Regions from separate parts of the Homo sapiens genome. Here all the other regions are linked to region 3. The links are contacts of gene promoters, found by promoter capture Hi-C in human tissues and cell types (Jung and others, 2019). All regions are on one chromosome and are shown on one strand. Each heading gives the region's core, a stretch centred on a gene start or on the middle of the fragment in contact. The rest is flanking DNA. Distances are from core to core; before and after follow the strand shown.

What was found. Contacts are between HindIII fragments. The study calls those that stand out against the background at their distance.
Region 1: the fragment with the promoter of WDR90 here is called in contact with a fragment that was not itself captured in region 3 in 1 of the 25 tissues and cell types used here (dorsolateral prefrontal cortex).
Region 2: the fragment with the promoter of POLR3K here is called in contact with a fragment that was not itself captured in region 3 in 1 of the 25 tissues and cell types used here (lymphoblastoid cells).

The regions. Positions count from the first base shown.
Region 1 is chr16:647,233-650,844 of GRCh38, reverse strand. It overlaps WDR90 (WD repeat domain 90), which reads right to left and starts at 1,480. Exons shown (of 41, transcript NM_145294.5): 1 at 1,419-1,480; 2 at 991-1,082; 3 at 678-854; 4 at 483-591; 5 at 136-306. The coding sequence starts at 1,428. MCRIP2 (MAPK regulated corepressor interacting protein 2) reads right to left here. Exons shown (of 5, transcript NM_138418.4): 3 at 3,301-3,428; 4 at 2,961-3,062; 5 at 2,371-2,725. The coding sequence ends at 2,655. It overlaps LOC105371038 (a long non-coding RNA gene), which reads left to right and starts at 1,532. Exons shown (of 2, transcript NR_135177.1): 1 at 1,532-1,890; 2 at 2,230-2,387. RefSeq lists silencers at 1,106-1,235, 1,346-1,445 and enhancers at 621-1,443, 2,866-2,915. The HindIII fragment of the contact is 7,525 bases long and covers 1-3,612 here.
Region 2 is chr16:50,957-54,857 of GRCh38, reverse strand. POLR3K (RNA polymerase III subunit K) reads left to right here and starts at 1,250. Exons shown (of 3, transcript NM_016310.5): 1 at 1,250-1,382; 2 at 3,213-3,300. The coding sequence starts at 1,272. It overlaps SNRNP25 (small nuclear ribonucleoprotein U11/U12 subunit 25), which reads right to left and starts at 1,030. Exons shown (of 5, transcript NM_024571.4): 1 at 800-1,030. The coding sequence starts at 841. RefSeq lists silencers at 680-779, 920-1,239 and enhancers at 1,570-1,729, 1,458-1,984. The HindIII fragment of the contact is 23,499 bases long and covers 1-3,901 here.
Region 3 is chr16:340,997-344,865 of GRCh38, reverse strand. The region is part of intron 2 of AXIN1 (axin 1); the gene reads left to right. Among named protein-coding and RNA genes, the nearest start is that of AXIN1, 9.8 kb to the left of the region's middle. RefSeq lists an enhancer at 2,850-3,401. The HindIII fragment of the contact is 5,555 bases long and covers 1-3,869 here.

The DNA of each region.
Region 1 (3,612 bases), core at 231-2,730, 310 kb before region 3:
GGGATGGGTTCTGGCCAGAGCTCAGAGACAGCACAGCTCGAGCACTGTATTTTCCCAAGCACCCTGGACTTGGGCCTCTCCAGGGCTGAGAGCATGGGTGAGATATGGAGTGGGGAGTGCAGGTGCGGCCCTCACCAGGCTCAAAGCACAGGTCACTGGTGTACAGGTTCCTGACCAGCAGGCTGGCGCACAGCCTGATGCTCTTGAGATGGCCGTAGCACCGGTTCAGGTAGACCAGGAGAACGTCCTGCAGATCGAGCTGCAGGCAGGTCCAGCGGGCTCCGGAGGGGGCCAAACCCACCAGATCTGCAGGATGGGCACTCAGGGTCAGCGCCCACCCTCCTGACAGCCCGCGACTCCCAGAACTGTGAGCTTGTGCCCCCGCCAGGTTGTCCTCCAGGCCGCAGAGGAGCCTCACTGGGCCTGCACCAACTCCCTCCAGCCACCTGTCCTGGATCATCCACACCCCATCTTGGTGTCACCTCTCTGAGGTGTCCTGGCCTCCAGGACCAAGGGAAACTGGAGCCACGTGGCCGTAGACTTAAACTCCTTGAAGAGGTTGGAGAAAGACACACGGATGACTTGGTTGTCCTGTGGGGACGGAGCAGGGCCGTGAGGAGACAGGGGCCGCAGGGGTGCCGGGGCTCCCACGCAGCCCCCAGCCGCGGGCTCCGTACCTTGGAGGACACATCGAGGTGGATGACGAAGTGCTTGCTGGGCAGGGGCCGAAAGAGCACATACAGGTATCGTCCCGTCAGCCCCAGAGACTGGGTGCTGCTCTTAGGGAGCTGGATGTAGTTGGCGGCAGAGACTGAGCCCCGAATGCGATACACGGCGCCCTTCAGGGTCTTGTCCTGGAGAAGCGGGAGCCCGCATCACCGACAGCACCCAGAAGAAGTGCAGCGGGGGCGAGGGGGCCCTCGGGGGCGGGGCAGCTCTCCTGGGGGCAGGGCAGGGGTGTGGGCTCCGGGCGAGCCCCCGGCCGCCTACCGTGACCACGGCCACGTCCCCCTGCTTGGCGGAGCGCTTCCACTCGTCCACCCGGAAGTGTCTGAAGACGTTGAGGAACGGGTGCTGCCACGCTGCGGGGAGCGGGCGCCGGGCGTCAGGGGACTCGGCCACGCGAGCCGGGGCCACTGCGGGGCTGGGCCGGGCCTCGGGGACCAGGCAGGAGCCGGGGCTCTCCGCGCCTTCCCCGGCGACGCCAACGCCAGCTAGGCTGGCGGGACGAGGCCGGGCGCCCGAGGGAAGCCAAGCTCCGGGAGCCCGAGGGTGGGCGCCCGGCAGACGGGACCCTGCCTGAGCGGGGACTCTGGCCTCAGGGCCTAGGCGGGGGCCCTGAGCGCTCCGGCCGCCGACCCTGGACCCCGGAACCCCGGAACCCGGGATCCTCGGGACCCCCGCCAGCCGCGCGCTACCTCGGGCCATGGCGCCGCCGCTCGAGCTTCCCGCCTAGGCCTCCGCGCGCCCAGCGCAGAGTACGCCCCGCGACGCCAGGCAACGGCTGCCTGGCAACGGTGCCACTTCCGCCATTACTTCCGCCGTCATGGCGGCGCCCTGGCCACGTGACCTCCCCGGTGGGAGTACCCCGCTCACGTCAGCGGCCTCCAGGGTTGCTCCAGCCGCGAATCCCGCTGCCCTTTGCCCCGCGGGCCTCCCAAGGCAGCCCCCTGTTAGCCCGACCGGCTTCGAAGCCCGCGCCGGTTGCGGATCCTCCGCCGCGCCCACCTGTCAGCGCCTCGGCCGGCCGGGGCTCCCGCCGCATGCAAGCAGCGAGGCGAGGTCGCGCTGAGGCCTGGCCATGCCACGGACGGCCGGGCCTCACCCTGCCGCTCTCTCGCCGTCCAGAGGCCCCTGCTCCACACCTGGGTACCCTGGGTCCTGACTCAGGTGGGCTGGGTCATCCCCGTCCATCAGGGAAGGTAGTGCGGGCGCCCGCGGAGGGGCTGGTTCCCACGTTCGTCCTATCAGGTTCCCCACGTACTCCTTCGCCCAGTGTCCTGCGGCCGGGCCCGGCGGATTCAGAATGGGACCTGGCGTTCTGAGACACAGCCCCAGTGCCGGTAGTGGGGGGTGGTGGACTGCACTCCGGGGCCATTTAATGTCTTTAGGCCTTGAGTCTCGGCTTCGGTCCCAGTCAACGCCAACGGGAGAGGAAAGAGGAACCAAGTGGGGTCCCCAGACTTCCAAGCAAGGTGGGCTGGCTAACGTCCCTCCTACCTGTCGCAGGGCAGCTGGGTGAGAAGCTAACGGCTTGAAGGAACAGGGCTACAAGGGGAGTTTGTGCTGGGCCTGGCGTCCCAGGCTGTGGACTGGAACTGGACATGAGAACCCCCCCTACACCCTCCCAAGTCAAAGACACTCCAAAAAGACAGTTTCTCCACTTTATTAGCCTGGAGCTCCTCCCTGCCAGCCCCAGGGGCTGGTCGCTGGTCCCTGGGCACAGTGAGCAGGGCTGAGGTCAGACGGGTTCGGCCCTTGGCCATGGCAGCTTGGTTGGGACAGCCGGGCCAAGGGAAAAAAAGGTGCAAAAGTCCAAATGCTGGCACTTCAGGTGTGGCCGGCACCCAGCCAGGCGCAGTGGGTGGGCAGGGCGCCATGCTTCTCTCCTGGCGACAGGTCGGCCGTGTAGCAGCGCCCCCTCCCAGCAGCCACTAGGAACAGCTGGTGATTCTCGCCAGGAACTGCTGCGCCCACCACTCGTCTAGGTCAATGGGCACAAAGTCTGTGGGCAGAGAAGGCTGGGCAGTGATGCTGCCTCCCAGGCCAGCCGGCAAGTCTCCCCTGGAGCTAACCACAAGCCGCTCACCCGGACTCCGAGTGCGGCAGGCGCTGGGAAGAAGGGGTTTCTGCACAAGAGTCCCCTCCCTCATCCCCTGGGGTGGGAACCTGGCAGGGCCTGGGTCAGGATCAGAGGGGCTGGGGGGTCTCTCCTGGGGGGACAGGGTTGGGGGGCTCACTCTGCAGCCGGGGATTGGGGGTCCTCTCCACGTACTGCACAGGCCTTGGCCCGCCCTCACCGGCTGGGCCACCATCCAGCTGCTGTTGCACCTGCTGCCAGGCTGTGGGAGGAGGGCAGTCGGGCTGAGCCAGGTCCCAGGCACCCCATCGCCCACCCAGGGCCTGATGGTCACCCTGGACTCCAGCCCCACACAGGGCTGGTCACAGGACACAAGGGCAGAGTGCCAAGGAAAAGCACAGCCATGCAGCGGCTGTGGGTCAGCTTGAAGTGGGGCCATCCCGGGTCCATGGTTTTGCGACCCAGCAGCCTATGCCGCACCCTCTGGCCCCGCTCGCTACCTTCGGACACAAAGCGGACATTCTCCTCGTGGGCCACTGTGTAGGTCTCCTGGGTCCCCTCGAAGGATGGGGACGTGGAGGGGGCCCGCCGGCCATTCACACGATTGAACACAAGCCTTGGCCCTGGACTGCAGGAAGGGAGGAGACGGACATGGTTGGTGCCCATCCCAGGTGCGGTGCTGCCTGGCAGAACTCAGGAGCAGCCCCGGGCCAGCCCACTTTCCCCAGACTTGGCCAGCCTAGGCACTTCCTGAACCAGAGAGAGCAGCCACCCACAGCAGCCGGTGGCCCAGGCCTCTCTTGCAGTCCCCA
Region 2 (3,901 bases), core at 1-2,500, 290 kb after region 3:
AATACAAAAAATTAGCCGGGCGTGGTGGCGCGTGCCTGTAGTGAACCCGGGAGGGGGAGGTTGCAGTGAGTCGAGATGGCACCACTACACTCCAGCCTGGCAACGGACCAAGACTCAGTCTCAAATAAATAAATAAATAAATAAAAAGACAGTATCGTCCCAAAGCATGATACTGACGCTTTGACACATGATTGACGCTTGAGGCAAATGGAACAATCAGTACTACTAATCTTGCTCTTATTTAAAACTAAATTTTTCTTTTACCGTAGGCTCTTTTTTTGCCTCAACTTTGACTTTTAAAGGTATTACAGGCCAGGCGGGTGGCTCACACCTAAATCCCAGCATTTTGGGAGGCCGAGGCAGGAGGATCGCCTGAGCCCAGGAGTTTCAGATCAGCCTGGGCAACATAGTGAGACTCCCTCTGTACAAAATATTTAAAAATTAGCCGGGTGTGGTAGCGCGCACCTGTGGTCCCAATTACTCGGGAGGCTGAGGTGGGAGGACGCCGCTGCACTCCAGCCCGGGCAACGCAGCAAGACCCTGTCCCCCGAGCCCCCTAAATACAATTACATTAAAATGTCATTTGATGTCACTCACTAATGAGGTTTTTGGTTCCTCTTTAAGCTTCGCGCCCCAGGCGAGTGCGCCCGGTCAAGGTTAAAACCCTCGTTTACGCCCAGAGGCGCCTTCCTCAGCCTTGGGCCGCAGTCTCCCACCAGCACCTTCGGAGGCTGCCGGCGCCCGGATGCCCGGACCCCGGGGAACGACTCCCGCGCCCCCAGCCCCCGCCCGCACACACCTGGATCGGCAGATCGCAGAGCAGCGGGTCCTGCACCACCATAGCCAGACCCTCCTGGAACACGTCCATGGCCTCGGAGTGCGGCAGCGCCTCTTCTTCGTCCTCATCTTCCTCTTGCGCCTCGGGCCCACCCGCGGCCTCCGTCTCCTCCAGGGCCGCCCCTCTCAGCCGGGCTCTGCCCGCACTGCCAGCCCGCACTAGGGAGGCCAAGCGCGCACGCGCAGGAACTGCGGCCCGCCCCAGCGAGGCCGCCCAGCCACTGGCGCGCCGGGGGGGGTGGGGCGGCTGCAGTGACCAATGACAAGTGCGAGACAGCCTGCAGCAGGGCCGGGAGCGCAGAATCGCCCTGTCTATTGGTTGGTTGGTGTGGCGGGAAGGCTGCCAGGACCAATGTGAGCTCGAGGCGGGCGGCGCATCGGCGCTGAGCGGCAGTGGGAGCTGCCGGGAGTTGGAGCCTGCGGAGTTCGAGACCATGCTGCTGTTCTGCCCCGGCTGCGGGAACGGGCTGATCGTGGAGGAGGGACAACGCTGCCACCGCTTCGCCTGCAACACGTGCCCCTACGTGCACAACATCACCCGCAAGGTGGGACCCGAAGGCCGGCGCTGGGCGCGGGCGACTCTCGCAGGCCTTCCGCGTCCTCCGACTGCTGCTCCATCGCCGCCAGCCCCGGCGTCTGCCTCTGTCCGCTCTTTCTCGCGCCCCTTTCTGGTCTGCAGCAGATCTGTGGGCTCTACTTTCCAATACACTCAGAAAGCCCCACCGTTTCCCACCGCCTTGGGTTCCTGCTCCCACGCTCGCGCCCTTCTCTGCGTTCACAGCGGCGGCCACGGTGATTTCCTTAAAGCTGAGGCACGCAGGTCCGTGCTGTGCGCAGAAACCTTCGGCTCTTCTCCAGCTCACGCAGACGAAAAGCCGGAGTTCTCCCAGGGCCTACCAGGTTCCGACACTGACTCCCTCCCCTGCGTGCGTCTCCGATTTCAAGTCCTAATGCCCTTCCTGTTGCCCTTTGCCGCATCAACACCGCCTCCTGGACGATCTCTCATCGTGCTCATGGTGCTAGCAGGGCCTTTGCACTTGCTGTTGCTCAGTTCACTCTTCCCCTAGATCGCCACCTTACTCATTGGTCTTGTCTTTACCGTATTTTAAATTTCAGCCCCTCCTTCCAATTTATTCTCCTTCCCTTTGTAATTGTTTCCATAGGGCTTATTACCTTCTAATATATTATGTAATGTATTGTGTGCTTTCTTTATTTTTTTTTATTGTTTTTTTTTTTTTTTTTTTTTTTTTTTTTTGAGACGGAGTCCCGCTCTGTCGCCCAGGCTGGAGTGCAGTGGCGCGATCTCGGCTCACTGCAAGCTCTGCCTCCCGGGTTCACGCCACTCTCCTGCCTCAGCCTCCCAATTAGCTGGGACTACAGGCGTCCGCCACCACCCCTGGCTGATTTTTTTGTATTTTTAGTAGAGATGGGGTTTCACCGTGTGTTAGCCAGGACGGTCTCCTGACCTCGTGATCTGCCCGCCTCGGCCTCCCAAAGTGCTGGGATTACAGGCGTGAGCCACCGCGCCCGACCTTTTTTTTTTTTTTTTTTTTTTTTTTTTTTTTTTTTTTTTTGAGACAGAGTCTCGCTCTGTTTCCCAGGCTGGAGTGCAATGGCGTAATCTCGGCTCACTGCAACCTCTGCCTCCCGGGTTCAAGCAATTCTTCTGCCTCGGCTTCCCGAGTAGCTGGAATTACAGGCGCCTGCCACCATCCCCGGCTAATTTTTGTATTTTTAGTAAAGACGGGGTTTCACCGCGCTGGCCAGGCTGGTCTCGAACTCCCAACCTCAGGTGATCCGCTTGCCTTGGCCTCCCAAAGTGCTGGGATTATAGGCGTGAGCCACCACGCCTGGCCAGAATACCTTTACTTTTTAGCAGTTAGAATATGTTGGTGCTACGTCAGTCTTAATGTTTGCATGCTACTCCAGTTTGTACTGTGTTGTGGGAGTTTGGAGTTTGAAACTACGGGAAGAGTGAACTCTTTGTTTTTTTTTTTTTTTGAGATGGAGTCTTGCTCCGTAGCCCAGGCTGGAGTGCAGTGGTGTGATCTCGGCTCACTGCAAGCTCCGCCTCCCAGGTTCACACCATTCTCCTGCCTCAGCCTCCTGAGTAGCTGGGACTACAGGCGCCCGCCAACACGCCGGGCTAATTTTTTGTATTTTTAGTAGAGACAGGGTTTCACCGTGTTAGCCAGGATGGTCTCGATCTCTTGACCTCGTGATCCGCCCGTCTTGGCCTCCCAAAGTGCTGGGATTACAGGTGTCAGCCACCACGCCCAGCCGAGTGAACTCTTATGTAATCCTGAAATTTAAGGTTTGGCAGCCCAGGTTTGCGCTATTCAGTTACTTGGAGTCTGAAGTGTTGTTTTTGTTAGGTAACAAATCGGAAGTACCCAAAACTGAAAGAAGTGGATGATGTGCTTGGTGGAGCAGCTGCCTGGGAGAATGTTGACTCTACTGCAGGTAAGAGGGAAAACTGTTTCTGTTGCTAAACTGTGGATAATTATGAGGCTGTTGATGCCACTGCTTGGCAGAGTCTATGATGTCATATAAATGATGTAGGTTTCTAAAAATAGAAAATGGTTCTTGAATAATTTATTTGTATTTGTTACTGTTTAATAATCTGTCAGACAAGCAATATTTGTGCCAGCCTTGGAGTCATACAGGCCCGGGTCAGATTCTCAGGGCAACCTTGTATTGTTGTAGGACCTTCCTTGGGTCTCTTGACTTCTCTGGGGCTAATCCATATTCGTAGACCGCGAGAGCATAAAGTGAATTATACCGTGCTTGGTATATAAGAGGCACTCAACAGGTGATAGCTTTGATAATGGCAATGATGAGTAGATTAATAAAAATAAGAGTCTAAGGAAAAAAGTATGTTCTTTCTGTTTGATATGGTTTGGCTGTGTCTCCACCCTAATCTCATCTTGAATTATAGTTTCCGTAATCCCCAGGTGTCCTGGGAGGGGCCCAGTGGGAGGTAATTGAATCATGGGAGCGGTTTCCCCCCATGCTGTTCTCCTGATAGTGAGTGAGTTCTCACAAGATCAGATCGTTTTATAAG
Region 3 (3,869 bases), core at 1,248-3,747:
CTCGCTCATCAACACAGGATTAAACATGTCTAAGGTTAAACTTGTAGTCTAAGTGATACGATTTAAGATGGACTGTCGACTGGGCGCAGTGACTCACACCTGTAATCCCAGCACTTTGGGAGGCCGAGGCGGGCGAATCACCTGAGGTCGGGAGTTCGAGACCATCCTGGCCAACGTGGTGAATCCTCATTTCTACTAAAAATACAAAAATTAGATAGGCGAGTTGGCGCATGCCTGTAATCCCAGCTCCTCGGGAGGCTGAAGCAGGAGAATCGCTTGAACCTGGGAGGCAGAGGTTGCAGTGAGCCTTGGTTGTGCCATTGCACTCCAGCCTGGGCGACAAGAGGACAAGAGTGAAACTCTGTCTCAGAAAAAAAACAAAAAAAAAACAAAAAAGGATTGTGTAGGTTAATTGGTTAATTTTTTTTTTTTTTTTGAGATGGAGTCTTGCTCTATCGCCCAGGCTGGAGTGCGGTGGCGCCATCTCGGCTCACTGCAAGCTCCGCCTCCCAGGTTCACGCCGTTCTCCTGCCCCAGCCTCCCAAGTAGCTGGGACTACAGGCGCCCGCCACCATGCCGGCCAATTTTTTGTATTTTTAGTAGAGACTGGGTTTCACCATGTTAGCCAGGATGGTCTCGATCTCCTGACCTCGTGATCGCCTGCCTCAGTCTCCCAAAGTGCGGGGATTACAGACGTGGGCCACCACGCCCGGCCTTTTTTCCCTTTTGTTCATTGTCTTTAGCCAAGTGGTATTTATTTAGCAAGCATTTTAGGACACAATATGCCGCAAAGTTATCCTGTTGAGTAAGCCTGGTATAAACTGAGAGTTTCTTTCTTTCTTTCTTTTTTTTTTTTTTGAAATGGAGTCTCGCTCTGTCACACAGGCTGGAGTGCAGTAGCACTATCTCGCTATCTCGGCTCACTGCAACTTCTGCCTCCTGGGTTTAAGTGATTCTCCTGCCTCCCGAGTAGCTGGGATTACAGGTGTGTGCTACCATGCCTGGCTAATTTTTGTATTTGTGGTAGAGACAGCGTTTCGCCACGTTGGCCAGGATGGTCTCGAGCTCCTGGACTCCAGTGATCTCAGCCTCCCAAAGTGCTGGGATTACGGGTGGGAGCCACTGCACCTGGCTGGTTATTTTTTTTGCTTGTTTTTTTGTTTGAGATGGAGTCTCGCTCTGTCGCCCAGGCTGGAGTGCAGTAGTGCAATCTCAGCTCACTGCAACCTCTGCCTCCTGGGTTCAAGTGAGTCTCCTGCCTCAGCCTCCCGAGTAGCTGGGATTACAAGTGTGAGCTACCATGCCCAGCTAATTTTCTGTATTTTTAGTAGAGATGGGGTTTTACCACGTTGGCCAGTCTGGTCTCGAACTCCTTTCCTCAAGAGATCTGCCCGCCTCAGCCTCCCAAAGTGCTGGGATTCCAGGTGTGAGCCACTGCGCCCGGCCCCGGCTGGTTATTTTTAAGATGGGACTGAAGTTGAGGGCTGGGCTGCAGGAGGAAAATGAGCTCCGTTCTGATTTCCACTGTTGGAACCCCAGTGCCTCCCTCCCAGCCACTCTTCAGTTCTTGGCTGCGAGCAGTAGCTTTGCTGTCTGTCCTTGGTTTGCTGTATTTGTAATAAGGAACCTTTGCTATGAAATTAGTGGGATACATTGGCTTCTCCTGTCTAATTTTGTGTAGCTCTGTCTACACAGTTTGGGTCCTAACTTGACTGCTCTGGGGCTGCTGGTGGCAGAGGACCCTGGGGCTTGGGAGTCGTGTCTGCGGTTGAATCCTCTCTGTGGGAGGTGGCCTGTGGTGCAGCCTTGTGGCTTGAAGATCTCTGATGTTGGAATGGTTGCTTGTCAGCACAGACAGGGCATGAAGTCCAGGCTGCGTTCCTCACATTTAGACCATTCTCTTTGTCCTGCCAGGTGTAGGTGAGGGTGCACTAGGTTGGAAGTCGTGGAAACCCACCCACCTGAGCCCAACCCTGAAGGGCACTGTTGAGGCAGAGCCTCAGGTGTGCCTTAGGGCCTGGCACCTTTGCTTTGTGCCATTCTGACTTTGCCTGCCTGGTGGGCGACTTCGTGGGCTTTGTGTTGGAGGTGGCTGCTGCAGTGACCTTGGGCTCTGGGCTCCCTTGTTTACAGATGCTTCCCGCAGCTCTGACGGATGGGCCCGCTGTTGCTCTGAGGAGGGCACGTGTGCCGCTGTGTCCCGTCTGTCTCAGCACAGTCACGGTGCGTGCGCTGGGGGCTGTGCAGCAGGGTCACTCCTGAAGGAAAGTGGGTTCTCCACCCAGACAGACGGCTGCTCCCCAGTGGGGAGCTGGGGGCAGTCCTCCAAAGGAAGGCTGCGGGTAATGCAAAGGGAAAAGGAGAGTGGGTACTGAACAGGCGGCTGGTGAGCATTGCTACCACAGCAGGGCCTGGAGCTTAGGCCTCACGTGTTAGGGGATGCATATCCTGTGGAGAGCCGGTTAGTCGTCCCGGTGTGTCCGGAATTGGTGGGTTCTTGGTCTCACTGACTTCAAGAATGAAGCCGCGGACCCTTGCCGTGAGTGTTACAGTTCCTAAAGGCGGCCTGTCCGGAGTTTGTTCCTTCTGACGTTCGGAGGTGTTCGGAGTTTCTTCCTTCTGGTGGGTTCGTGGTCTCACTGGCTTCAGGAGTGAAGCTGCAGATCTTCGCGGTGAGTGTTACAGCTCATAAAGGCAGTGTGGACCCAAAGAGTGAGCAGCAGCAAGACTTACTGGAAAGAGAGAAAGAACAAAGCTTCCACACTATGGAAGGGGACCCGAGCGAGTTACCACTGCTGGCTCCCGCAGCCAGCTTTTATTCTCTTATCTGGCCCCACCCACATCCTGCTGATTGGTAGAGTCCAGTGGTCTGTTTTGACAGGGCGCTGATTGGTGCGTTTACAATCCCTGAGCTAGACACAAAGCTTCTCCACATCCTCACCAGATTAGCTAGATACAGAGTGTCCACACAAAGGTTCTCCAAGTCCCCACCAGAGTAGCTAGATACAGAGTGTCGATTGGTGCATTCACAAACCCTGAGCTAGACACAGAGTGCTGATTGGTGTGTTTACAAACCTTGTGCTAGATACAGAGTGCCGATTGGTGTATTTACAGTCCCTGAGCTAGACATAAAGGTTCTCCACGTCCCCACCAGAATCAGGAGCCCAGCTGGCTTCACCCAGTGGATCCCGCACCGGGGTTGCAGGTGGAGCTGCCTGCCAGTCCCGTGCCGTGCGCCCGCACTCCTCAGCCCTTGGGTGGTCAATGGGACCGGGCGCTCGTCGGGGAGACTCGGTCCGCACAGGAGCCCACGGAGGGGGTGGGGGGCTTAGGCATGGCGGGCTGCAGCTCCCGAGCCCTGCCCTGCAGGAAGGCAGTTAAGACCCAGCGAGAAATTGAGCGCAGCTCCGGTGGGCCGGCACTGCCGGGGGACCCAGCACACCCTCCGCAGCCGCTGGCCCGGGTGCTAAGCCCCTCATTGCCCGCGGCCGGCAGGGCTGGCCGGCTGCTCTGAGTGCCGGGCCCACCAAGCCCACGCCCACCCGGGACTCCAGCTGGCCTGCAAGCGCATGCAGCCGCGGTTCCCGCTCGCGCCTCTCCCTCCACACCTCCCCGCAAGCTGAGGGAGCCGGCTCCGGCCTTGGCCAGCCCAGAAAGGGGCTCCCACAGTGCAGTGGTGGGCTGAAGGGCTCCTCAAGTGCCACCAAAGTGAGAGCCCAGGCAGAGGAGGCGCTGAGAGCGAGCGAGGGCTGTGAGGACTGCCAGCACGCTGTCACCTCTCACCGGGGTGGAATTTGCGTGGAGGAACGTGCCAGGAGGGCCAGCCCTCGGGTGCTGACCCCTCTGTCCTGGAGGCTACTTTGCCTGCA